4 separate regions of the Homo sapiens genome follow, and all the other regions are linked to region 3. Evidence: promoter capture Hi-C in 16 types of primary human blood cells and fetal thymus (Javierre and others, 2016). All regions are on one chromosome and are shown on one strand. Each heading gives the region's core, a stretch centred on a gene start or on the middle of the fragment in contact. The rest is flanking DNA. Distances are from core to core; before and after follow the strand shown.

The links. Contacts are between HindIII fragments. The CHiCAGO score rates a contact against its expected background, and 5 or more counts as called.
Region 1: the fragment with the promoter of GON4L here is called in contact with the fragment with the promoter of HAX1 in region 3 in 1 of 17 cell types (neutrophils); the score reaches 5.6 in neutrophils.
Region 2: a contact is called between the fragment with the promoter of ARHGEF2 here and the fragment with the promoter of HAX1 in region 3, in 1 of 17 cell types (neutrophils). The highest score is 5.2, in neutrophils.
Region 4: the fragment with the promoter of RXFP4 here is called in contact with the fragment with the promoter of HAX1 in region 3 in 5 of 17 cell types (total CD4 T cells, neutrophils, fetal thymus and 2 more); the score reaches 9.3 in total CD4 T cells.

What each region holds. Positions count from the first base shown.
Region 1 is chr1:155,855,964-155,859,384 of GRCh38, reverse strand. It overlaps GON4L (gon-4 like), which reads left to right and starts at 2,171. Exons shown (of 32, transcript NM_001282860.2): 1 at 2,171-2,238. RefSeq lists enhancers at 1,218-1,805, 2,092-2,291. The HindIII fragment of the contact is 10,340 bases long and covers 1-3,421 here.
Region 2 is chr1:155,977,159-155,980,432 of GRCh38, reverse strand. ARHGEF2 (Rho/Rac guanine nucleotide exchange factor 2) reads left to right here and starts at 1,886. Exons shown (of 22, transcript NM_001162383.2): 1 at 1,886-2,068. The coding sequence starts at 2,006. ARHGEF2-AS2 (ARHGEF2 antisense RNA 2) reads right to left here and starts at 1,794. Exons shown (of 3, transcript NR_183460.1): 1 at 1,739-1,794; 2 at 978-1,113. RefSeq lists enhancers at 692-741, 129-750, 1,212-1,281 and silencers at 1,622-1,671, 1,732-1,891. The HindIII fragment of the contact is 25,844 bases long and covers 1-3,274 here.
Region 3 is chr1:154,270,861-154,274,170 of GRCh38, reverse strand. HAX1 (HCLS1 associated protein X-1) reads right to left here and starts at 1,542. Exons shown (of 7, transcript NM_006118.4): 1 at 1,395-1,542; 2 at 573-835; 3 at 210-397. The coding sequence starts at 1,447. It also overlaps a transcript of UBAP2L not described here. RefSeq lists an enhancer at 1,479-1,648 and a silencer at 1,786-1,926. The HindIII fragment of the contact is 9,202 bases long and covers 1-3,310 here.
Region 4 is chr1:155,939,734-155,943,130 of GRCh38, reverse strand. It overlaps RXFP4 (relaxin family peptide/INSL5 receptor 4), which reads right to left and starts at 1,493. Exons shown (of 1, transcript NM_181885.3): 1 at 44-1,493. The coding sequence starts at 1,421. The coding sequence ends at 297. RefSeq lists an enhancer at 940-1,439 and a silencer at 1,759-2,053. The HindIII fragment of the contact is 9,136 bases long and covers 112-3,397 here.

The sequences.
Region 1 (3,421 bases), core at 922-3,421, 1.6 Mb before region 3:
TCCTCCCACCGCCGAGTTTTCCCGAGAATGAGGCCGCGCCCACTGACGCGCTGTGGTTCCAAAACGAGAAAGTACTGAAGGGTAAGAAGCATAGGTAGATTATTATATGAAATCCTCTGATTTCAGTTTTCTGGGCTTTAATACAGCAGCAAAATGTTCTCGGTCCTGAGTTCCAGAATTTTGGGAAAATAAAATTCTGTACTGCCTGGATTTCAGTATCGACTGCCATCATTATGCATTTCTGAGACCGCTAAAGGTTATTACAGAACTTTTTTTTTTGGCTTATATTTCACAGTGGATGGAAACTGTCTTAAACCTCAGAAACTCTGATGAAAGACCAAACCTGGGGATGGTTGCACAACTCTGAACATTTACTAATTTTAAAAAAACAGCCGGGCACGGTGGCTCATGCCTGTAATCCCAAACCTTTGGGAGGCCAAGGCGGGCAGATCACTTGAGGTCAGGAGTTCGAGACCAGCCTGGCCAGCATGGTGAAACCCCCATCTCTACTAAAAATACAAAGATTAGCCGGGCGTGGTGGCACACGCTACTTGGGAGGCTGAGACACGAGGATCGCTTGAGCCCAGGAGGTGGAGGTTGCAGTGAACCGAGATCGCGCCACTGCACTCCAGCCTGGGCAACAGAACAAGACTCCGTCTGAAAAAAAAAAAAAAAAAAAAATTTGGTTGTACACGTAAAACAGATGGATATTGTGGTATGCAAAGCTGTTTAAAAAAAAAAAAAAAAACAACTAATGAAAAGTGCCAAAGTTAATCAGTGTTGAATTTTTTTCATGAACCTCAAGTGCTTAGGGTTTCGTATGAGAGAGGCCAAACCGAAAGATCTGTGTATTCTGTAGGTCAAAGAACAACACACATGAAACTCCGAGCTTCTGGAGTCTTCCTTGGTATTTGGGAGAGTTGGTGTGATTCAGGTTAGTCAGACTACTGCCATGTTTGCATAAATTTCAACCTTCATTTTGGCTGTGGATAATTTCATCCGTTGGATTCTGTTTACAGATAGGATTAGTTCAAATGTATAAATTTGTGTTGGTGGTTTACCTGTAAAATGAGGGGGTTGAAAGTATTTTTCCACCTTTTGACATTCTGTTTTTTATTATTTTTTTAATCTCCGTGGATTCCAGACATTGTTTTTCTAGAAAAGTGGAAATAACATCATTTTAGAAGTCATTCATTCATTCGCTCATTCAAAAAGCACGTATTGAATTATTGAACATCTGTTACACCCCAGGCAGCCTCCTGGACACTGGGTCAATGCATTATTAGCTAGAGTTAGGAGACTTAATACCTGATTCTCCTTGATAGCTGTCTGTGTACCGTTGTGAAATCACCTACTCAGATGAGCCAGAACTTTGTCCTGTGCAAACTGGAATATGATATAATAATCTTACAGTCTATTGTGGAGACCAAGTCACCTAAGAAAATGTGAGAGCATTTTGTAAAATGCAGAATATTGTACATATATGAATAATTACTATAGCCTGAGTCCAAGAGTGCCTTAGTTTTAATCAGGAGCCTGCACTATTTGTAATTTAGAGACTTCTTTTTCTGGCATTTTATGACTTCTTCAGTCCCTTGGTCCTGTGTTCCAGGTGACTCGTAGTGAGAAAAATTAGTTGTTAATCTTTTTTTTTTTTTGATACAGAGTCTCACTGTCGCTCAGGTTGGAGTGCAGTGGCACGATGCCGGCTCACTGCCACCTCCGTCTCCCGGGTTCAAGCGATTCTCCTGCCTCAGCCTCCGGAGTAGCTGGGATTACAGGCGTGCGCCACCACGCCCAGCTAATTTTGTATATTTAGTAGAGACGGGGTTTCACCATGTTAGCCAGGGTGATCTCGAACTCCCGACCTCAGGTAATCCGCCCGCCTCCGTCTCCCAAGGTGCCGGGATTACAGGCGTGAGCCACCGCGCCTGGCCCCCAAATTAGCTGTTAATCTAAACCACTGAATCTTAACCTCAGTTTTGAGTAGGATAACTCCATGGGCAGAGAAAGCTAAGTAGTGCCTTTAAATTTTTTTGCCAATAACTGACGCACTAACGTTGTGGCTTCACTCTGCCCTAAAATGGGATGGCGCATAGTGTTAGGCGCATGCTCCTTGATGCACTGCGGCGCGGCGCTCCGAGGCTCGGGGACGCGCACGCAATTCGCTGTTGTTGGCTGACTTCCGGTGGTGCCAAAGCCGTTTCCGTGGAATCAGGCCGGCTGGTGAGGGTACAGGTTTGTGTGTGGTGGGGTGGGAAGAGGCAGGTGGGAGCTGGGACACCTGGACGAACGATGTCCAGGTTGAGAAGGTCGGGTCTGAGGGTGGGCGCTGGGTGCGTGGCGGAAGTTAAGGGCGTGAAGTCCAGTGTCTAGTTGGGAATGGGGACTGGAGCCAGCCCTGGGCACCGAGGTGGAAGCGCGGTTAGGACCCCTTTTGAAAATGTTTTCCTAGGAGAGGGCCGTGCCGGGGCTGCCTCCACATTGGCATTCATTCACCCTGCTGGTCCGACTTGGGTTCCCAAAAAAGTGGATTCTGTCGAGCTACTGCTGTGTTTGAGGTGCCTGGAGCTGAAGTAGCTGTCTTTCTTTCCTTCTTTTTCTTTCTTTCTTTTTCTTTTTTTCCCCTTTTTTTGATCTCAGTAATTATCTGTGAAATAAAAGAGCTGCCCTGGCTACTCCCATTCTATTTCTTATAAGGTCACCACCATCTCTCACAGGAATCAACGAAATCTTCATGTTTTATTGAGCTTTAGTTACTGAGTTTTAATTACATCAGTTGATTGAGGGGATGGAGAATCTCCCCTAATGTCTTGGAGAAACAGAAGGGAGGTTTAAAACTAACTGTAGGTCGGGCGCGGTGGCTCACGCCTCTAATCCTAGCACTTTGGGAGGCTGGGGCGGGAGGATCGCTTGAGGCCAGGAGTTTGAGACCAGCCTGGGTAACAAATCGAGACCCCGTCTCTACAAAAAAAAAAAAAGAAAAAAAGTCGTTGAGGGTGGTGGCAAGTGCCTTGTAGTCCTAGCTACTCGGGAGGCCGAGGCCAGAGGGTCACTGGAGCCCAGGAGTCTGAGGCTGCAGTGAACTAGGATCTTGCCACTGCACTCCGGTCTGGGCAACAGAGCGAGACCTTGTCTCTGGAAAGAAAGAGAGAGAGAGAGAAAGAAAGAAAAGAAGAAAGAGAAATCTAACCTTAGACGCTTAGAGTTACAAATAACTTTTATTTTTCAGTTCTCTAGTTCAGGCTTTCATCTAGTACTCTGATAAGTGGACATTCAGGCTTCGCTTGAACATTGCCAGTGATCTAACACAAGGCGGCTTATTCTATTATTGGATCTATTTATGACAGTAAAGTTTTCCTGGGTAATAAGATGCCTTTTTTTTTTTTTTTTTTTTTTTTTTTTGACAGAGTCTCCCTCT
Region 2 (3,274 bases), core at 637-3,136, 1.7 Mb before region 3:
AGAGTTGGAGGGTCGGGTCCTCTTCTTTCATAGAGACCTTCTTAGTTGAGTTGAGGGACCATGAGGTCGCTTGAAAAACCCCAGGGTTCAAATTCTATGTTTCCTGGGTACCCAGGCTGGAGTGTGGCCCTTTAAGATTCTATCCATAGCTTGCAGCACCCTCCTGCCCCAGGCCTGGGAGAGAAGCTGAGGTCCCACCCCAGATCTTGTCTCTGGGCCTCCAGTGGGTGGAACCTTGAGGCCAAGATTCTAGCCTCTGGCTGTCTGTTTTTAAATTTAGTACATTCCTGAGTCTTGGCTGCCCACCTCAGGGGAGGTGAGTCTGGAGTTCTGGGGCCAGGAGCCTCAGGCCTCTTGGTTTGGGGGAGTTCCTACACCCTCCCCGTAGGTATACTTGGCAGGTGCAAGCCAGGAAGAACAAGCTGTGGCCCTGGGGAAGTCCTTCCTGCTTTCTAATGTCCATCCAGCCTGAACTGGGCACGGTTTATTTCCTCTTCCTTTTTCCTGGTCTTTGCTATTTAAGGATTCTAAACAGGGGAATGGGTGAAGAAGGAGGTGAAGGAGTTGCTAGGAAGGAGGGGAAGCCGGAGGGGCAGTGTGGGGGTAGTGCTGGGGGTGAGGAGCCCAACCAGCTCAGCCAGTGGTGAGGTAGTGGAGCCCAAAAATAGTGGCAGAGGCTAAAATTGGCACCTACAAGAGTGCTGAGTTGGGCTTGAAACCTGCAGCCTGGCCCCACTGCTGAGCCAGGGCAGAGAACTGCTGGATCTGGGTTGGGTCTCCCCTCCCTCCCTTCTTCTCCCACGCCCTTTGGGGCCAGAATCAGGCAGGACCCTGCTAACCGAAGGCTCTGTCCCAGGCCTCTCTGTGCTTCTGGTTTCTCCAGAGAAATGGGAGACCCTGAGAGGCAGAAATGAACTTCACTGTAAGTGATCATAGTTAGACTGGAGGAGGAATTTTCCCAATAGCAGGAAACTCACCCAAAGGCTGGCTCAGGCTGGGGAAAAGGGTCCAGAGAGATGAATGCCCCACCTTACCCTGCTTCTTGGGGAGAGGCTGGTTGGGCCCTAACTTTCTTTGACTAGGGCAGGCTGGTTTCTGGTCTTTCAGTTCCGGCTTAACTTGCAACAGAGAGAACTGCAGTTAGACACATGGAAGGCCTTCGGTAAAAGTGGAGAATCCCAACCTAGTCCCCCAAAGTAGCTGGCAGAGGCGGAGCTAGGAGGAGGGCAGAGTGGGGTCAGGAAGGCCCCAGAAGGGTGGGGCATGTGGGAGAATTCTCTCCTCTCTGTTCTTCGACCTCTGGGAGTGAATCCTACCCTTCCCGTGTACTGAAGATCCAGCGTTTAGTTCTCCTTTGATTTCCTCTCCCTCTGGCCACCCCTGCCCCCAATCGTAAAAGGGGTCAGTCTGCTCAGGCCTGCTTTGATGGGACCCCGAAGGCCAGGAAGGAACTGGTCCTGGGTTTTCTAAGAGCTGGGGGCGGATGGAATTCTCCTGCCTGCGGGTCTTTAAAGACTGAGGTAACGCAGTAGGGGAGGGAAAAAGGGAGGGCGAGGGGAGAAGGGAAGAAGGGGAGGGCAGAGGGGAAAGGGCCAACCTGGGTCCGGCGAGGGCTGCGGGGCTGGGTTTTAGGAAAAGAAGAGCTAAGAGGCGGGTCTCTGGGGCTAGAGGGCGCCCCCAGGCGCTGGAGGGGAAATAGGCAGAGGGGCCTCTCAAACCTGTCCTAGGACCCTCGTACCTCTCCGAGCTGCCCCCACACAAACCCTGGCGTCCCGTCCTGCGCGCGGGCACCCCGCCCTCCCTCCGCTCCGCCTACCCCCTTCCTGAGCTTGGGCGGGGGAGGAGACTCGGGTTTGAGGAACTGGTGCTGGGTGCCGGGCGAGGGGAGTCAGACTTCCTGTCCCCGAGACCAACGCGTGCGGGCCGAACCCCTCCCCCCGCCTTCCCCCAACAATACAGGACGCCGGGGTCCGCGCCGCGTCCTCCCTGGTCCCCCCGTCCGATTATGTCTCGGATCGAATCCCTCACGCGGGCGCGGATCGACCGGAGCAGAGAGCTGGCGAGCAAGGTGGGCTCGGAAACCCCTCTCCTTTCGCCGCGGTCCTCGGGTGCTCCCCGAACCCCGGCACCCGCGGTGCATCTCCTGTCTCCCCGCCTGCTTTCTGGGCGCCAAAATCGGGCGGAGCGGTGGATCGGCGAGCGGCGGGACGGGGTGGGTGGGGACTGCGAGCGAGTGGGTAGGGGTGGGGGGAGCGGCAGACGCGACGGTGCTGGGATCCCGGGAGGGAGCGGAGCGGACCTGGGCTTGGTCGCCTCCAAGCCGGCGGGACCGAGTGCTTTAGGCCGCTTGAAAGAAAGTTGCTCCGGTAAGGGACGGAGCGGGAAGAGGGAGGTGTGTGTCTCGCGGGTGGGGGCGGTGGAAGCTCCGGCACCTCCTCTCACCCCGGGCCCCACCGGCTTGGGCTTGGCGTGGCGACCCCCCATCACTCCCCAATCGCTGGCTTGGTCGTTCCCCCTTTGTCCCCGCCATCCGGCGGAGGGGACGGGAGGGGGTGGTTTCCCGGCTTCCTCCCACCACCACCACCACCCCTCCAAGACAAAAGTCAGCTCCTCCTCTCCTCGCAAATGGACTTTCCAGCTGTGATTCAGTTCTCCCCTCTGGGTGGGCGGGTGGCTGGGGTCGGGACGGCCGAGGGACGGCTTACTTCCCCCAAACCATCACCTCTAGGTGAAGGGAGCAGAGGTCTTTGTGTAGCTGGGCTCCTTTCCTCCATCCTGAGCCCTTCTGCCTGGAACATAGGGCCTCCATCCCTATCTGCCCCGCCAGCCTCCTAGCTCTTCCTTCTCCCAACCTGAAACCCTTAGGCTGACACACCTGGCACTATGCATTGTGTTCCCTGCCCTTCCTCCTCCTCCCCCAGCGCTCTCATTCTCTTATCTGCTCGTCTTGGGGTCCCTTCACCTAGCATTTCATGAGTCTGGGTGTATAATTATCCACACGCCTCCCCCATCATGACCTCTTGGCCACTCCTCTCCAAGTACCCTTTATCCCTGCCTTTGTACCCAGCCCCATTCCCAAGTGCCCTGACCTTTCCACACCCAGACCCCAGGAAATGATGAAGCTGACTTGCAGGTGAATAAGTCAGAGCTGAAAGGAAGGTGGTGCCTGCAGACAGCACCTCCCAGCTCCTTTGGGGCCCCCGCACTGTACCCATTATCAGAAAGGACAGGTCCCAGCCCAGAGTTGGTTTAATCTCTGGCTTCTCTCCAACCT
Region 3 (3,310 bases), core at 293-2,792:
TGCCCGGCTAATTTTTTGTATTTTTAGTAGACACGGGGTTTCACCATGTTGACCAGGCTGGTCTCCAACTCCTGACCTCTGGTGATCTGCCCACCTCGGCCTCCCAAAGTGCTGGGATTACAGGCGTGAGCCACCGCACCTAGCCAGTCTTTGCACTTTATTAGTGGTCTCTCACAAGCTCTCACTTCAGGACCAGATGGGATACTCACCCTATGAAATGGCCTCTGGGAGCCCCAGTCTGGTGCTGGTTGGGGGGATTCACTTCTTGCATCACTCTCCAAGACCCCCCCAAAGATCCTGGGCTGGTGACTATCTGGATACTTAAGCATTGAGTCCCGAAGTGTCTGTCCCTCCCGTAGTCTCTCACCAGGTGTCTCTGACTCAGGACCTGGAAGTTCTGCAGAAAGGTGGCAGGTGTTTGCTGGGATGGGAAAGGACTTGGGCTCTATTAATCTCTCTGAAATCATCAGTCTTCTCACACTTCCCATCCCCCAGCTACTCCCTGCAGGCTCTTTATTTCACCCACCAACCCACCAGAAACCACAGGTTGCCCCTTAGGGAAAGCCACACACCAGGAGGATGGGAAGGCAAGGTCCAGGCCCCCATATCGCTGAAGATGCTATTGAAATCTCGTACTAGGTCATCAAAGCCGAAGTTATCGTGGAAACGTATCCCTCCTCCTGGGCTGAAGCTGAAGCCGAAGCCAAATTCCTCAGGGGGGTGCTGAGGACTATGGAACCTTGGGTTCCCACGGCCCCATGAGCCCCCTTCTTCTTCTTCTTCCTCATCATCATCTTCATCTCGAGTCATCCCTCCAAAAAAGGGATCTCTGTGGCTGAGAGTGGAGGCAGATTGGCCACCAATATTTCAGCACTATTTAAGCCATTAAATCAACTCATGGGTGGCAAAGTGGGACAAGAGCAAGGGGTCTGGGAAGCTAGGGAGAGGGTCGGAGGACTGGCTGCCACATCAAAACATTAATACAATGGCTGACAGTTCTTTTTTTTTTTTTTTTTTTTTAATCAAAGTCAGACCTCAGCTCGCAGCTCCCTTCATACACCTTCCCCCAGTTTTTCTTCAGTGTGCCCCAGTCCCTCCTCTCTCTCCCAAGGTCCTGCTCACTTGCTCACTGTCTTATTCCCCAGACCCTCACGGTCTTCCCCGCCCGGGTCCCTGTTGCATCACCCCAGGTTGGAGAAAGGCTTAGTTTGCTGTTTCTCCTCTTAATGACCGCCTTGGTTACTGTGGCGGGGTGAGTGTTCAATGTTGCGACTTCTGTCCTCTCTGCAGGAGTTGAAGGAGTGGGACAGAGGATGTTTTTCCAAAAATAAGACGTAGGGGTCAAGCTCCCCTCAGACGACCCCCACCCTTGTCCGAGCCGGACCTACTCTCACCTCCGAGGTCCAGGAAAGCCGAAAAAGCCCCGGAAGAGATCAAAGAGGCTCATTCCCGTACTGGGACGCGAACCTTTGAACCCCTCCAGTGGTCCATTCGCAGACGGGGGAAACCTGCGCAGCCCTGTGAGAAATTGAGCGAGGCGTCAGCCCACGCTACCGGAAAGCAAGCCCGCGATCCTGACACTGTCGTAAACGACGGTAAGCCGGACGTGAAATGGAGGCGGGACCGAAGGTCTTCCTCAAATTTGAAAGGCTTTATCTTTACCCCACCTTTCAGAGACCAGTTTCCGTGACGGGAGTGGGCGTGACGCACTTTCAGTTTCCTATGACCGCCTTCCTCCTAAATCTGTTCTTCTTTCTGCAGACCAACTCAGTACGAAAAGCGATTTCGAGGGTTTGACTCTGGATGGCACCCGGATAAAGCCGCCAGAGGGCAGCCCAGCCGCACAAATGGACCGGCTTGAGGGCGTCCCTCAACCACCCCACCCGCGGGGCTGGCCAGCCTCACAGCAGAAGCCACCTCGCTCCTTACTCGGGCGTTCTTTTTGACTGACCTGGGCGATGTCTGCTGTTAGAGGGATGAACAAAATGCTTTTCCAAGCTCCTTCTAGTATTGAATTTCCCAGAGAAGAGATCAAGACATAAGAGACGCATGGACTTAACTTCCTCCACCTCTCTAGCTACTAGGGAGTTTGTTATAACTATATAGAATTCTTTTTTCTAAGCAGGCTCTGCAACCAGCAAGACAAAGGATTTTTAAGAAAGCAAGGGAAGGGAAGCTAGTTGAGTCCTGAGAAGGAACAAATTGGGGGTTATAAAGAAATATCCCTTTGGTATCTTTTTTTTTTTTTTTTTTTTTTTTTTTTTGAGACAGAGTTTTCTCTCATGTTTCCCAGGCTGGAGTGCAGTGGCACCATGTCGGCTCACTGCAACCTTCGCCTCCCAGGTTCTCTCCTGTCTCAGCCTCCCGAGTAGCTGGGATTACAGTCATGCGCCTCCACGCCCGGCTACTTTTGTATTTTTTGTAGAAACGGGGTTTCACCATGTTGACCAGGCTGGTCTCGAACTCCTGACCTAAGGTGATCCGCCCAACCCAGCCTCCCAAAGCGCCTGTCCTCATTCCTTTTTAAAAGTGTTTTGTTCAAAACCTCTCCGAGACCTGTCTCTCCCTGTACCCCATCCCCAAGCCAGACCTTGCTCTAGATTCTTTTTCAAAGAATTGGGTATAGCTATGTCACAGAGAAGCATCCAAGAAGCCACTACTACAGTAGTCCATTCCTAGGGGGAATGGGCCCCAAGGTTTTGTTTTTTTATTTCGTTTTTGGGGTACAGGTGGTGTTTGGTTACATGGATGAGTTCTTTAGTGATTTCTGCGACTTTAGCGCACCCATCACCCGAGCAGTGTACACTGTACCCAATATGTAGTCTTTCATCCCTCACCCCACTCCAAGATTTAGTTCTGCCAGACGATACATGTTGCCTTCACTTCTTTTTAGTTTATTTGCCTGGACCCATCTAAGTCATACTTAAAACTCTATAAAGCATTTTTTTTCTTTGAAATGGTCTCAGCTCCTTCTTGATCCTCTCCATTTTCCACCCAATCTCCTCTATCCCTCTCCCTTTACTGCCTGAAATCGGCTGTAGATGTAGCAGTTTCTGGAGGAAATGAAGATTTGTGGTGGTTCTTTCCAGTCACCAGGTTGTGAAAGTCTTAGGGGTGAGGGGAAGGAAATCCCCTCAAGGACAAGATACTACTACCACATTAAGGTCAGGAGTTCTTAAAGGGCGAAGATTTCATTTTATTCCACTGCCTTCAGGGGCCTGCTAGAGGAGGCCCAGTTGGTACAGTAATACTTATTCACCAAGCTGGTCATCGACGAAATTGAGGATGTCCTAGACGGAGCAAGAATAGG
Region 4 (3,397 bases), core at 244-2,743, 1.7 Mb before region 3:
CATACTGAACTGGAGGTGGAACTGGGATAAAAGGTCAAGACAATTTGTGGATAATCCAGAGGTTTATTCTCAGATCCTCTTCTTTCCCATCTCCAAATAAAGACTTAAGCTTTGTCACATCCAGCTCTGATCTGAGCCCCCGCCTCCCCCATTCACCACACCCAGAGTTGGGGATCAAAGATCAGACTTTTCCCTGAGGGCACTGCAGCCTGGCAGAGAGGGCAGCTTCTCCCCAGGACTCAAGGATCCTACACTTGGTGGATCTCAGAAAGAGGAGTGTGTTCAGCTTGCGCCCTTCACCCGGGTGTCCCTCTGTCCAGGTTGGTGAGCAGGGTAGAAGGGCGGCTCTCCCGGGGGTTGCTTGCGACCCACCGCCTGCCTACCTGCTTTAGGGCCACCTGTTGCACCCAGCCTCCGCCCTGGGGCCACAGCCTCAACCGCAGATCCCTGAAGGTGCCTGCCAGAGCCTGCCGGGGCTCCCGCCTCAGGAGACAGTACAGCACAGGGTTGAGGCAGCTATTGCTGTGTGCCAAGCAAGTAGTGACAGGGAAGACATACGTCTGGATAGTATAGAAAGTACTGTTCCAGGGCACCAGGTCAAACTTCACCAGGACACCCCAGAGAGTGACCACATGGTTGGGAAACCAGCAGAGGAAGAAGGAAGCCACCAGGATGCGGACAGAGCGGGCCACGACCCTGCTGTCCTGCCGCCGCCGTTGCCGCCGCTGCAGGAAGGCCAGCAGCAGCAGGTAGCTGGTGGTGATGACGCCCAAGGGCACCATGAAAGCCAGCACCACCCTCTGCAGCTGGTAGGCCCCCAGCCAGTACCTGCTGGGGAAACGCAGCAGGCAAAGGCGCACACCACACACCTCACCCTCCACCCCGAAGACAGCTGTGGGCACCGTCACCAGGGCAGCCGCCGCCCACACTGCCAGGGTGGCTATTCGGGCCCAGAAGAGTGAGAGGTGGGTGCCTGGCCCCGCAGCCATGGCCACCACCCAGTAGCGAGCAACGCTCAGCGCTGTGATGAGGAAGATGCTGGCATAGACGTTGAGGACAGTGGCCGTCAGAACCATCTTGCAGAGGGCACCTCCGAAGGGCCAGTGAAAGTCCAGTGCCGACTCGGCTGCCCAAAAGGGGAGAGTGAGTGCCAGTCCCAGGTCCGCCAGAGCCAGGTTGAAGACGAAGGTGTCTGAAGGTGGGCCAGGGGCTCTCCGGGCACAGTTACTCAGTACCCACAGCACCGCCAAATTTCCCAGCAAGCCAATGGCCCCCACAAGCCCATAGGCCAGGGCAACCATGAGCCTCAGGGCTAGGAATTTGACAGGCATCGGAGCATCATCAGCACTCAGCACACTGCCTCCGGAGGCATTGGCCCAGAAGAATGTGGGTGGAGAGGCAGAAGTATTGAGTGTGGGCATCGCAGGGCATCAGAGATTGGTGGTGCTGAGAAGAGAGGTCTGCAAGTGTCTGCCAGACTGGCAGAGGCCACTGAAGGCTCTAGGAAGGAGGCTGTAGAATTAAGTGCTTCTCTGGGGCCTCTGGTGAGCCCTGGCCCACGCCCACACCTCAGAGGGAGGGGTGTGGAAAGGACAACCCACCACCTTCCTGTTGGTCAAGATTGGTGGTAGGTGGGGCAGGGCGAGGCACAGCCTGAATGCCAGGGTATATGTGCATGCGCCCGCCTGTAAGAGGGGCTCTAAATGGCAGAGAGGGAGGGGAGAAGGGAGAGTTACCCCGCTATGGAGGGCAGCCCCAAGCCTCCACCCCAGGGAGAGAGCTGGAGGTTCCCTGTCCCAGAGATGACAGGAACCAAACTAGAGCTGCCTCTGTTCCTAACAGTGCAGAGGCCTCCCTCCTCTGCAGAAAGTGTTCCCTTGGGGCCCAAAGCAAGGGGCCTGGGAGGTGGCATAGAGGCAGGGAATCAGCATGGGTGTCCAAGAGAGGAAAGAGCGGAGGCTGCGGAGTCCCAGACCTGCTGCTCACTAGCCGTGTGACTGGGAGAGTTACTTTACTCCCCTAAGCCTGTTTTCTTGCTTAAAATTTTCAGGTAAGTCTGCTTCACAGGAGTGGCATGATGCAATGAGAGAACACATGTGAAATAGCAATTTGTATGAATATTATTTCAAAGGAGAAGTTTGGGGTGTTTGTGGCAGAAGGGTACTGAGAGGCTATTACCATGCCCAGGGAACAGTGCCAACTAAAACAGGTTGGAATTCATCTCAGCAGCAGTGACCTTGAGGCTAAGAGCAGGGAGGGAAAAGAGAGAGGAAGTCACAGCTTCCTGTTTCCTCCCCACTGGGAACACTGGGCCTATGAGGGCCTGTGTGGACCTGGGCATGCCCTCAGTTCTGTTCCTGCTCCTGATAATTAAACATTCCTGCTAACCTCTATCGCCGCCTTTCCCCCCTTTCCTGCTCTAGTCTGTGGACAGAGCTCAGCGGTCCCCCTACTCTCTCCTGCAAACCCCATGTCAGAGCTAAGGATCCTGAGATACGCCCTCACCACACCTCATCCTGTCTCCCCATGATCTCAATCATAACTGGAAAAAAAAAATGCTTCATTGGGCCCTCCCCTTTCATTGCCTACATCTCTACCTACTGCAGAAGGAGCTGAGGTGGGGACAAAGAGAAGGCAGGAGGTGGATAGGTAAAAGAGTAAGGCTTTCTCAAGGATTCCAATATATTCAGCCCCTTCTTGCCCTCTGCCAGCTAATTAAGATAACGTTCGATGTTCAGTTCCTTTGGAGTGCTGAGGGAAGAGAGGGGCCCTTTGCGACAATAAATCAGCAGTGGGCTTGTGAACACATAGGAGAAACCCAGAGGTGAGAGTGATACAGGCTGGGTGCCAACATGTTGGGGCTTTCGAACCAGGGATGAGTATAAAGGGGGTGGCAGAAGGGGAGTGCCCAGCCCAAGGTCAGGTGAGCCCCACAGGCTACCTTCTGGCCTCATGGCTGCTCCTGTGTGACTGTGTCATCACTGTCTCTCGGGGCCATGTCTACTCCTCTGCCCACCCAGAATCACCCTGCTAATCTGGCAATTAAGATAACTGCTTGGCCAGACGAGGTGGCTCATGCCTGTAATCCCAGCACTTTGGGAGGCCGAGGTGAGCGAATCACCTGAGGTCGGGAGTTCAAGACCAGCCTGACCAACATGGGGAAAGCCCGTCTCTACTAAAAATACAAAATTAGTGGCGCGTGGTGGCGAGTGCCTGTAATCACAGCTACTCGGGAGGCTGAGGCAGGAGAATCACTTGAACCCGGGAGGCAGAGATTTTGGTGAGCTGAGATCACACCACTGCACTCCAGCCTGGGCGACAGAGCGAGACTCCATCTCAAAAAAAAAAAAAAATTTTTTTTCTTTTTTTCTTTTTTTTTTGGTTGAGAAGAGGTCTC